Linked DNA regions of Homo sapiens: region 1 is linked to region 2. Evidence: promoter capture Hi-C in 16 types of primary human blood cells and fetal thymus (Javierre and others, 2016). All regions are on one chromosome and are shown on one strand. The core of a region is centred on a gene start or on the middle of the fragment in contact, and the rest is flanking DNA. Distances in the headings are between cores, read along the strand shown. Region 1 overlaps KATNIP (katanin interacting protein). Region 2 holds the start of XPO6 (exportin 6).

The links. Contacts are between HindIII fragments. The CHiCAGO score rates a contact against its expected background, and 5 or more counts as called.
Region 1: a fragment that was not itself captured here is called in contact with the fragment with the promoter of XPO6 in region 2 in 1 of 17 cell types (megakaryocytes); the score reaches 5.3 in megakaryocytes.

What each region holds. Positions count from the first base shown.
Region 1 is chr16:27,636,291-27,642,470 of GRCh38, forward strand. All of the region lies in intron 5 of KATNIP (katanin interacting protein), which reads left to right. Among named protein-coding and RNA genes, the nearest start is that of KATNIP, 89 kb to the left of the region's middle. RefSeq lists enhancers at 530-1,030, 4,830-5,471. The HindIII fragment of the contact is 4,214 bases long and covers 1-3,747 here.
Region 2 is chr16:28,209,676-28,215,466 of GRCh38, forward strand. XPO6 (exportin 6) reads right to left here and starts at 2,290. Exons shown (of 24, transcript NM_015171.4): 1 at 1,691-2,290. The coding sequence starts at 1,693. RefSeq lists an enhancer at 1,410-2,408 and a silencer at 2,038-2,527. The HindIII fragment of the contact is 3,886 bases long and covers 1-3,254 here.

The DNA.
Region 1 (6,180 bases), core at 391-2,890, 570 kb before region 2:
TTCCTGTTTGCCAAAGTCCCCACCACTCCCCAGAGCTTCAGTGGTGAGGCTGAGTGGTAGCTGTGGTTTATTATCAGATTTAGGCTATGATTTCTCTTATCTCGTGTTTCCATTTCCCGTCTGGTTCTTTGGGGCATTTGAATTTGTAGCCCCTGGAGAGTGGAAGGAGTAGGCTTTGGACTGCTCACTGGCTGTGTGTCCTGGAGCTGGCTGTGTAACCTCTCTGAGCTATGTACGTGTAACCTCTGTGAGCTGTGTGCCCTGGAGCTGGCTGTGTAACCTCTCTGAGCTGTGTGCCCTGGAGCTCTCTGTGTAACCTCTCTGAGCTGTGTGTCTTGGAGCTGGCCATGTGACCTCTCTGAGCTGTGTGCCCCAGAGCTGGCTGAGTAACCTCTCTGAGCTGTGTGTCTCGGAGCTGGCTGTGTAGCCTCTCTGAGCTGTGCACCCCAGACCTGGCCATGTAACCTCTGTGAGCTGTGTGCTCTGGAGCTGGCCGTGTAACCACTCTGAGCTTTGGTTTCATCATCAATGAAACCTCCCAGGGCTGCTGGAGGGGAGCATGTGCAGCGTGCATTACAGGTGGTCTCAGCAGGGGCTGCCTGCTGCTTCAGGTGGGAACAGGTGACAGACAAGTCCAGAGGAATGGCTAAGAGCATAGACCCTGGAACCTTCCAGCAGCCCCAGTGCAAAGCCTTGGCTCCGCCTCCTGCCAGCTGCACAGTGGCTAAGACGCTTAACCCCTTGGTGCCTGCGCTCTCATTTGTCATGTGAGGTTGGTAATGGTAATTAATGAGGGCAATTAATGAGGATCAGTGGGGTCTGTGTTTGGAGAGAAGCTGAAGCAGTGCCTGGCACAGGAGAAATAGTGAATGGTGCTGCCTGTTGTTGTTTTAATCACAGAGGGGCAGATGGGGAGGGCAGCTCAGCCTGGAGGCCTCAGGGCTCTTCACTCTAGTATGTTCCTTTGCTCACTCATACTTTACTTCTTTCATTCCGTGCTCATGTATTGAGCACATACTCAGTTTTGGCACTTACAGATGCCGGGTTCCAAGCAATAAGTGAGGCCAGCCCTGCTCTCCTGGAGCTCATGTTGATGGGGAGCGGGTGGGGAGGTTGGGAAGGCAAAGGACCAAAGGCAAGCAAGGGAGTCGGAAGACAGTGCTACGAAGGAAGGACAGAGGACAGCAGCCTGAAAGAGAAGCTGTCGGGGGAGCGCTCCTTCAGCGAAGGTGGGCAGCACAGCCTCCCAAGGGGCCGCATCGCAGCCAGGGCCTGAGAGTTACCTGGAGCCAGCCCCGGAAAGATCTGTGGCTGGGGGAGGCTTTCAGGTGAGGGGACAGTGAGAGCAGCGGGCACTGGGCACAGGCTGAGAGGAGGCAGGGCGATCAGGACAGGGTGGCAGAAAGGGTGGGGATGAGGGTGTCAGGGTTGCAAGTAGGAAGAACCGGCCATGCAGGGCCTAGAAGACCACAGGAGGAAGTTTGGATTTCAATCTAAATGTGAGAATTTCCAAGAGGGTTGAAACAGTAGAGCGCCACGTTTGGGTTCATATTTTGGGTTCATGTGTGCAGAAAGGACCGCCCATGGGAGCAAGGGGCTACAGGAGGACCAGGAAGCCTTTGAAGCAGGGCTACGTCTCTCTCCACCAACCTTCCCCAGCCCCCGTCCTTGCACTTCTGTTCCCTGTCCCTGAGCTGCCGCCAACTCGTAGCTTCAGTGTTCCCCTGATCCATCGTGCCTTCTCCACACACGGTTTTACACTCCCTCCATATTTGTTAGTTGAAAGTTTCCAAGACAGAGACAGTCTGAATCTCTCAGCTCATCCCTTTCTCAGGGCATGGCCTGGGCTGCTGCTGCTTAGCCTGGATGAGGCACCCCCTCCTACCTCCATCGGCTATGACTAGAGCCCCTCAGAGACCAGTTCATTTGGTGCAAACCCTGCCTGCCCTGGCCACATGAGCAGGAACCATGAGTCCTATAGCTTCTTGTCAAGAAGGCTGGAGGTAGCAGAGTGAATAGACTGGGGGTGCCAGCTATACCATTATTACCGTCATGAGGAAGACAGGCTGGATTGGTTTGCTCTGGCTCCAAGAAGTGGAGTTAAGTCCAAAGTTTCTCCATGGTAGACAGTCCATGGAGACAGAGTCTTGGGTCCATGGGATGGAGAGGAAGACAATCTTTCTATCCTAACCCTTTTGGATGGGCTCCTGCCATGCTTAGGGGCAGCCAAGGTAGGCAGAGTGGTCAAGGCAGCCAAGTCCCCAGTGGCCAGTGGCCAGTTCTCAAAAGCTGCTCCACCAAGAGAGGGACCACAGTCCTCTCCCGGTCTTGGGGTTTCACTTGTAGGGCCATGCCAACCAGGAGGTATCAGTGGGGCCACACGGTCGCCTTGTGTATTCACATTGGTCAGCAGGGGACACCGTGGTGGGATGCAGTGGTCCCAGTGCACAGTGAGCACCTGCAGTCCCAGCCTTATTCACAGTCCACACAGCCCCCTTGCCTCCCCATTCACCCTCTGTACTCTCCTCCTGGCTGTCTTGCTGGATTTTTTTTTTTTTTTTTTTTTGAGACAGGTTCTTGCTATGTAGCCCACACTGGTCTTGAACTCCCGGGCTCATGCGATCCACCCACCTTGGCCTCCTAAAGTGCTGGGATTAACAGACGTGAGCCACTGCGCCCAGCCCTGAAACTCTCTTGAATCACACACCCTGTTTCTACTGACCAAGCCCAATCCATTCACCGCCTCCAGGAGAACAGGTTTCTCTTCTTACGGTCTCACCCAACAATAAGAAAGCACATTTGGGTAGAGCTGCCCTGACAGGAGGGGCTGCGTCAGGTACACTGGCCTCCAGATCCCTTGACCAGAAGGTCACAGAGTCATCCCAACTCTGGCTCCTGGCCAAGAAGCCGATGACTTCCACCTGTAAAACCCTTCCCAAGCCCCTCAGATTCCTGGGGGTTTGGGGAGGATCATGGCGATGGCTGTGTTGGGCTCCCGAGCTGCCACCTTCCCTGTGGAATGGGCTGGTGGTGATGTATGGCCTCTTGTTCATACTGTCCTTTTCCCCCCACCACTTCTGGGCCTTAGATCTTTATGCTGCTATCTGTGGATTAAGATTTATGGCTTCCTCAGCCTTGTAATACTTGGGTGGACAGCGGCCTAATCAACAGAGCCGTCGTTTACCAAAATGCTGTCAGATTTGATGAACGTCATCGGCTCTTAGCATTAAATTGCTAGTGAAGGGATTGGCCTTCCAGCAATTTACTGTGGGGTGGGCGTTCCTTAAAGGTCTCTAAAGCAAGTTCATTGCAATTATTAAAGCAGAGGCTTTGCTCTCACTCAGCCACCATATCCTGTGTCCTGTTGTGGCCTGTGCAGCTTCAGCACCTTCAGAAAATCTCACAAGTAAAAATGGGAAGTGTTGGGGGCCCTGTCTCTTGTTATCTTCCTTCTGAGTTCTGAAACCCTTGCAGTGAGGACGACAAATGAAACAAGCCGTAAAGCATTGGCCTTTCCAGTGACCTTGCACAACACAGACTGTCAGAGTGGGGAGCACTGCTATTTCTAAGAGATCAGACAAATCAGGGATGAACACATCAAGTCAGCCGGACCTCCCAACCCTAGACCTACCTTTGTCAGTGTTTTAGAGCTCTCGTACCTCTAGAGGGAGCCATTTGCATACTGCACAACCCACACAACCATATGGGGCAGCCCCCAGCCTTGCTCTTTTTTTCTACTTGACAATAAGCTTTAATGCACACCTTTTAAAACAGTTTGCGAAGAGGGGTGGCAGATATGAACAAATAACTCTAGGCATGAACTGGGCTGAGTGTGGGCCAGGTATGAAATAAGCTGGCCTTGGGTTGCAAAAAGGAACATGGATTTGGGGATGTCACTGCTTTTAAATCCTCCTCCCCCATATGATTGATACTGCAAGGGTCTACCCAGGTCTGGGTGCTGCAAGTAGGCAAGAAAGAGCAGCCGCTTTGAAACACCCACTCAGGTACAGCAGCGTGCCAAGCGGGGAGCTAGCCAGGTGCACAGTCATCATCCCTTGCAAGGGCGTGGAGGTGGGAGGCAGGGAGCCATGCACGGCCTGGGGGGCTGGGTTGGAACCTGCCAGCCTGGGCTGCTCACTGGAGGTGAGCCTTCCGTGTGGGCAGGGCTGCTTTCAATCTCCTCCCAGTGGTGGCAGAGGAGCCTCCCTGGGGCTGGGGGCGGGAGAGCAGGCCAGATGGAGGGACTATTTATTCCCCTCTCCAGCACCCACTCAACATTAGAAACTCTTTCTGGACCACATTAATTTTGTCACATGTTGCTTCATAAACACATTCTCCCATTATGTGTGCTGTGTGACCTCCTTGAGGGCAGGGCATTGGTTTTTAATTTTTTTTTTTTTTTTTTGTATCTTCCTGTGTTTTCAGAACCTTGTATGCAGTCGGCGCTCAGTAAAAGCTTGCTGATTCAGTGCCTTAATGCCGACTGCAAACCTGGGTCCTGACACCTCTGCGAGGTGAGCAGTAGTGCTAAAGGGAAGACGGGAAAACCACAGACGAGAGAGAGGCCGGGCGCGGAGGCTCACGCATGTAATCCCAGCACTTTGGGGGGCCGAGATGGGTGGATCACCTGAGGTCAGGAGTTCGATACCAGCCTGGCTAACGTGCTGAAACCCTGTCTCTACTAAAAATACAAAAACATTAGCCGGACATGGTGGTGAATGTCTGTAATCCCAGCTACTCGGGAGGCCGAGGCAGGAGAATTGCCTGAACGCGGGAGGCAGAGGTTGCAGTGAGCTGAGATCGCGCCATTGCACTCCAGCCTGGGCGACAGAGTGAGGCTCTGTCTCAAAAAAAAAAAAAAGGAGAGAGAGAGACCTGGGCTTTCCTTGAACATTAGAGCTCTCTTTCATGCTTTCAGTTCAAATCCAAGGCTAGCAGAATTGTTCATCCCGATTCTTGGTTATCTTAAGTTCAGGCACGTTTGGGTCCAGGAGCTCAAACGATATAATGACCTATTCTTCATCTCTCAACCCCCCCTGTGCCCCATGTGGTACCAAGACAAGCCACCAGCAGCTGCCCACTTAGGTTCCGCCACCCTGCTACCACATCTCTTCCATGCCCCAGAACCAGTCACCCAATCACTGGGGGGACAGGGGAATCGCATGCTCTGATTGGCTAGGCCTGGGTCACGTGCTTCCACCCCTTGGGAGGACTCAGTGCCATGTGAACCTCTTAGGGCCCGGGCAGGAAGTGGGGAGCAAGACACCATCTCAAAAAGCGAAAACAGGGTGCTTTTACCAAACACAGGGGAGTATGTGCTGGACAGGCAGAAGCAACGGCTTCCACCACAAAGCCTTGTCGATCTCCTGATCTTATGCTATTGGAAATTGAATGTGCGTGCGTGTAAATGACCTGGGATACTGCTCAGGTTTACATTCTGATTCCCAAGGCAAAGGAGGGGCCTGGAATTCTGCATTTCTCACAAATTCCCAGGAGATACCAATGCTGCTGGTCCGTGGACCACACTTAGAGTAGCAGGGCCCTAGTCCAGGCCCCCTTTTTCTGGACAAAGGACTAGAAACCCATGGGGAGGCCAGGCCGCACCCTAGGCCCTGGCCGGTGCTGGTGAGTCAGGCAGCTCCTCAGGCCTGGGCCCCGTGCCCCGTGGTCCCTCCTCCTTGCCCCTTCTCGAGCCATCTCTTCCCCGGCTAGAAGGCCTCCTGGTATTTGGATGTAAATTGAGTAGTTTCTGGGGAGGAGGGAGGAGCATGCTCTCCTGGGAGGTATGGTAGAAAATTGCGGCACTATTCACAATAGCAAAGACTTGGGACCAACACAGATGTCCAACAATGATAGATTGGATTAACAAAATGTGGCACATATACACCATGGAATACTATGCAGCCATAAAAAATGATGAGTTCATGTCCTTTGTAGGGACATGGATGAAGCTGGAAACTATATGTCCTTTGTAGGGACATGGATGAATGCTGGAATCATTCTCAGCAAACTATCGCAAGAACAAAAAACCAAACACCGCATGTTCTCACTCATAGGTGGGAATTGAACAATGAGAACACATGGACACAGGAAGGGGAACATCACACACCAGAGCCTGTTGTGGGGGGCCTGCTGTGGGGCCTAAAACTTAAAGTATAATAAAAAGAAAAATTCAAATCA
Region 2 (5,791 bases), core at 1,040-3,539:
AAATGAAGGAAGGAATGAGTGCTACTTTCATTAGCCACTAAATGTTATACCTCATACCTCTAGATTACTCTTTAGAGAAATCCTATCCCCAAATTTCATAGTTGAGGAAATTGGAACTGAGAGCTTAACTGATTTGCCACAATTCATACTGTGTAATATATATGTTAAAATACATAGACTCAGCTGTGCACGGTGGCTCACGCCTGTAATCCCAGCACTTTGGGAGGCTGAGGAGGACGGATCACTTGAGCTCAGGTTCAAGACCAGCCTGGGGAACGTGGTGAGACCTCATCTCCACAAAAAATTAGCCAGGCATGGTGGCACTTGCCTGCAGCCCCAGCTACTTGGGAGGCTAAGGTGGGAGGACTGCTTGAGCCCAGGAGGTCGAGGCTGCAGTGAGCCATGAACGTGCCACTGCACTCCAGCCTAGGAAACAAAGCAAGACCCTGTCTCAAAACAAATAAAAATAAAACACATACACTATACGTATAGCATATACTGTACGGTGCTGCTCAGCATTAATGGTGTACTTTACCCAGCTGGTTGTAAGCTCCATATCTCAGGACCTACACACTACCCACAGGCCCCTTGAATGTTTCGAAAATTCCACAGGCCTTAAGGTCTGTATCACAAAAGATGCAGCTATGTCCCTTTCTCTATTATACCACTAACTTGGCAGGGGTAAAATGGGTGAAACTGAGGAGAACAGCTCCACTCCTCGAGGTGCTCAACCACAGGCTAGGTGATCCAGTACTTACCAAGGGCTTACTATGTGCCAGGAGCTGGAGCAGATAAGGGTTCAAACAATTTGGTCTTTGAAGGAGCTGTGTATACCGCAATAGACAGATAAGGCTCAGAAATAATTACAAGAGCAAAAAGGCAAATGCTTAACAAAGAGATGTGGGTACACACATTTAGGGGAGTATTGAAAGTATCGGTCTAGAAAACGTGGAGATGTGGATACACAAAGAGATGTGAGTACACACATTTAGGGGAGTATTGAAAGTATCGGTCTAGAAAACGTGGAAGGTAGCTTCAGCAGAGATCAGAGCATGTAGAATAGCAGCCTCAGTGTCAAAAGATCACGACCATTCCTGACTTTGCCATCACCTGTGCAAGTGACCTCTGTAAATCGCTCTGTTTCCTCATATATAAACCTACAGCTAGATGAGATGTTTCTCCTACAATCACCCAGCTCTCTAAGTGTATTAGAGATGCCTAGGTTCAAAGTCAGATGCCTAGGTTCAAATCTTAACACTGTTAAAAAGTCGCTTGACCTTGAGCTGGGGAATTAATTGCTCCGTGCCTCAGTCTCCCCACTTCCGAACAGAGGGCTGGTGTGATCATTAAATACTACTGCACTGTCAATCACTTCGCGCAGGGCCTTGGCAAGTAGTAAGCCCTCAATAAACGATAGTTATTATCCGGAGGAGCTGCAGGAGGCAAACACCAGATGCAAGGGTTGTGCCTGCTGCGCTCCCAGGGCCCTCCCAGGCCTGAGCCATCATCCCTGGGGGGATGGGAGCGCAGGGCCGGGGCTGCACACTCTGCACGCATGTGTCACCGGCCAGGCTCCGCACGCGCCTCTCCCCGCCATGGGGAGAGCAGCGATGGCTCAGCAGCCCCGGGGCCCATTCCCACCCTTCCGGTAGGGCACCCCAGGAGGGAAGGGGGCTCCAATTCCACTTACCATGCTGGCCGGGGAGGGGGCGGCTCAGATGAGCTGGTTCTTGGGCTTCGGACACGTCCCGCTCGCACAGTTCAGGTCATGGTCCCGGCAGACTCGGGAAGTCCCCCACCCATGCAAAGACAACCCCTTCCCCACCGGGCCCCGAGGGGACCCTCTAAAAAGGGCAGGGCCGCCCGGGTCGCCTCATCGGGGGACCCCGAGACAATTCATCCAGACCCACCCGCCCCTCCCCAAGGAAACTGAAAAAGCAGGAAATGAGGCTCGGATGCCGGCGAGGAGGGCAGCTGCTCGGGACCCCCGCCCGGGCCCGACCCCCGCGGGGGAGGCTGCGGGCCCAGGCAGGGGCTCCCCGGCCTCCGCGGGCAGAGGTGGCGGCGGCCCCGGCCCCGAGGCTGAACGGGCGGAGGCTGACAGGCCTCGACCGCGCGGCCCAGGCGGCCGGCTCAGGGGAGAGGCCCGGGGGCCCGCGCTGTCCTCGCAGCCTCAACCCACACGGCCACTGCCGCCGCCCCCTAGAGCATCCTTGCGCGCGCCCGCCCTGGAGCCGCCCGCTAGTACCGCGCGGCCGCCCCCGACCAACAGCCCCAACGCGCCGGAAGTGGCGAGCGCCGGGCGGCCCCACAGCGCGGCCGCCGGGCTGCGGCGCTGGAACCGGACCAATCCGGAATCGAGCGGGGCGAGCGGGGGGAGCGGGCGGAGGGCGGAGGGCGGGGCTGCACCTGACGGCTCCCACTGGCCCCGCCTTCTTACCACGCCCTCTCTTGCCCCGCCCCCTGCGCCCACCGCCCGTGCGTCCACGCGGGCCGGCAGCCATCTTGGTAAAGGGAGCCCGGGCTGCCATTTTAGTAAAGGCGTGGTTTCCCTTTCGCTTTTTTCGCCCATTCATTCCGCTAAAATTTTAGTGAGTGCCTTTTACGGGCGGAGCATCGAGCTGGCAGCGTGACGACACGCGGCCCTATGGAGCTTACATTCATGCAGTCCACACACTCTTGCCCGACTATATTCCAGGCCCTGCTGTGGATGCTAGGACAGGGGAGATAAACGTAACTTCGATAGCCAAGGTGCTGAGAGAGGCAGAGAATGTGTTGGATTCCTGTTCCCATCCTCCAATCCACTTTACTCGTGAAAGTGCTCATCTTTATTTTGTTTTATTTTTGGGGACAGGTTCTTGCTCTGTTGCCCAGGCTGGAGTGCGGTAACACAATCATGGCTCACTGCAGCCTCAACCTCCTGGTGCGCCACCATGCCCAGCTAAATTTTTTTATTTTTTGCAGAGGTGAGGCCTCCTTTTGATGCTTGGGCTGGTCTGGAACTCCTGGGCTCAAGCAGCTTTCCTGCCTCAGCCTTCCAAAGTGCTGGGATTACAGGTATGAGTCATCCAGCCAGGCTGAAAGTGCTAATTTTAAGAAACAGTCAGGAAACTATCCCAAACAGCTGAGGTTGAGCCCGCGGGTGTGCCTACTACATAGATTGGAGCAAATCTATGTAACCCAATGGCCCTTGTCAACCTTAAATAACGAGATTGAGAAAATAGTATTTAAGTATAGGGTTTATTCAAGCCCGAAGCTTGAAGATGGCCCACCAGAAGTATAGTCCAATTAGTGGCAGTTACAAATGGGGTTTCCTTGTTTGTTTGTTTGTTTTTAAGACAGGGTCTTGCTCTGTCGCCCAGACTAGAGTGTAGTTTGTTGTTGTTGTTGTTTGAGACGGAGTCTCGCTTTGTCGCCCAGGCTGGAGTGCAATGGTGCAATCTCAGCTCACTGCAACTTCCGCCTCCCGGGTTCAAACGATTATCCTGCCTCAGCCTCTCGAGTAGCTGGGACTACAGGCACCCACCATGATGCCCGGCTATTTTTTTTATTTTTAGTAGAAACGGAGTTTCACCATAGTGGCCAGGCTGGTCTTGAACTCCCGACCTCAGGTGATCCGCCAGCCTCGGCCTCCCAAAGTGCTGGGATTACAGGCGTGAGCCCTCCCGCCTGGCTTCAAGTGGGTTTCTAAGGAAAAAAGAGGCATAACATAAGGTTGAATAGGAATGATGAGAAAGGGGGAAAAAATAACATAAGCTATTGCCTATACATTGTTCTTTGTATCACAAATTTCAGGAACCTGAAGGAAATGGGGGAGGCAGCTAGTCTGGAACAAAATATCTTTAAACAATTGTCCCCGAGCATGTGGAGGTGGGAGTGTGCCCGAACTCCCATACACAAGTCTCAGTGGACCTGACAAATTTTGCATACTTCACATAACTCAGACTTCCCTGAGCTATTTTTCTTTCCTGTCAAACCTCAGTGTGATCTGAATCAATTCACCCAGAAGGACTGTTAAAACAAAGATTACTCGCTCCACTCATAGACTTTCCCATCCAGTAGGTTTGAGATGGGGCTGAATAATTTGCATTTCTAACAAGCTCCCAAATGAAGCTGATGCTGCAGGTCTAGATACCACATTTGGAGAACCACTGATACAACACTTTACCACTGAAAGCAATAGCTTTCAGGGGTTTTTTAGTTTTTTGTTTGTTTGTTTGTTTGTTTGTTTTTGGAGAAAGGGTCTCACTCTGTTGCAGTGACATGATCATGGCTCACTGCAGCCTCAAACTCCCAGCCTCAAGCACTTTTTTTTTTTTTTTAATGAGACAGAGTTTCGGTCTTGTTGCCCAGGCTGGAGTGCAATGGCATGATCTCGGCTCACCGCAACGTCCGCCTCCTGGGTTCAAGCAATTCTCCTGCCTCAGCCTCCCAAGTAGCTGGGATTACAGGAGCCCACCACCGCACCCAACTAATTTTTTGTATTTTCAGTAGAGACGGGGTTTCACCATGTTGGTCAGGCTGGTCTCAAACTCCCGACCTCAGGTGATCCACCCGCCTCGTCCTCCCAAAGTGCTGAGATTACAGGCATGAGCCACCGCGCCAGGCCATCAAGCACTATTTTTTTTTCTCTTGAGAGGGAGTTTCGCTCTTGTTGCCCAGGCTGGAGTACAATGGTGCAATCTCGGCTCACTGCAACCTCTGCCTCCCAGGTTCAAGCAATTCTCCTGCCTCAGCCTCCCAAGTAGCTGGGATTACAGGCACCTGCCACCACACCCAGCTAAATTTATTTTTGTATTTTTAGTAGAGACGGGGTTTCGCCATGTTGGCCAGGATGGTCTCACCTCCTGACCTCAAGTGATGCGCCCACCTCGACCTCCCAAAGTTCTGGGATTACAGGCATGAGCCACCATGCCCAGCCTCAAGCACATTTATTTTATCAAATCTTTATTGTTGTCCACTAAGTGACAGTCACTATTTCAAGGATTCAATGCTGAGCAAAACAAATATATGTGTGCCCTTATGGAATTTAAAGACAAATTATTTGTAAAATATTGTACAATAATGGATCAGTTATTGTGATAAGAGCAATGAAGGAAAAATTGAAACTAACATGATATAACTTTAATATAGTTTACACGCTAATAAGGCCAAGGGATCTAAAATAATCTGGCAGATTAGGATGGGGAGGAAGTCAGGAAGTGACATTTCTTTAAGCTTTGGCCTTAAAGAAGCAGGAGTTTGCTAGGCAAAGAGAGGGGGCATAGAACATTCCAGGCAGTAGAAACAGCATGTACAAGAGAAGCCATCTCAGTAGGTAAGCTGATGAATCGGAATGGAGGCCAAGTCACTTACTTGGCTTAGTTTAGTAGGATGAGTGAAAGCTTTGGGTTGAGACTCATTTGGAGTGGAATCCAGCTCTTAACTTCACTAGCTAAGGTATCTTGAGTTATTGACTCTCGAAGTCTTGGTTTCCTTACTGTAAAATTGAATGAGATAACAGAAATGCAACTGACTCACTTAAGGGTATGCCTTTGGGTTACATAACTGGACTTCCAGAGATTCATTAGCTTTTGGCTGGGTGTGATGGGAGGCCTAGATCCATTCCTCTAGGATTTTCTTTTTTTTCTGTGTGTGGTTTTGTGTGTGTTTGTTTGTTTGTTTGTTTGTTTTGTTTTGTTTTATTTTTTTGAGACAGGGTCTCAGTCTGTTCTCCATGCTAGAGTGCAGTGGCGCAATCACAGCTCACTGCAGTCTCGACCTCCCAAGCTCAAGCAAGCCTCTCACCTTA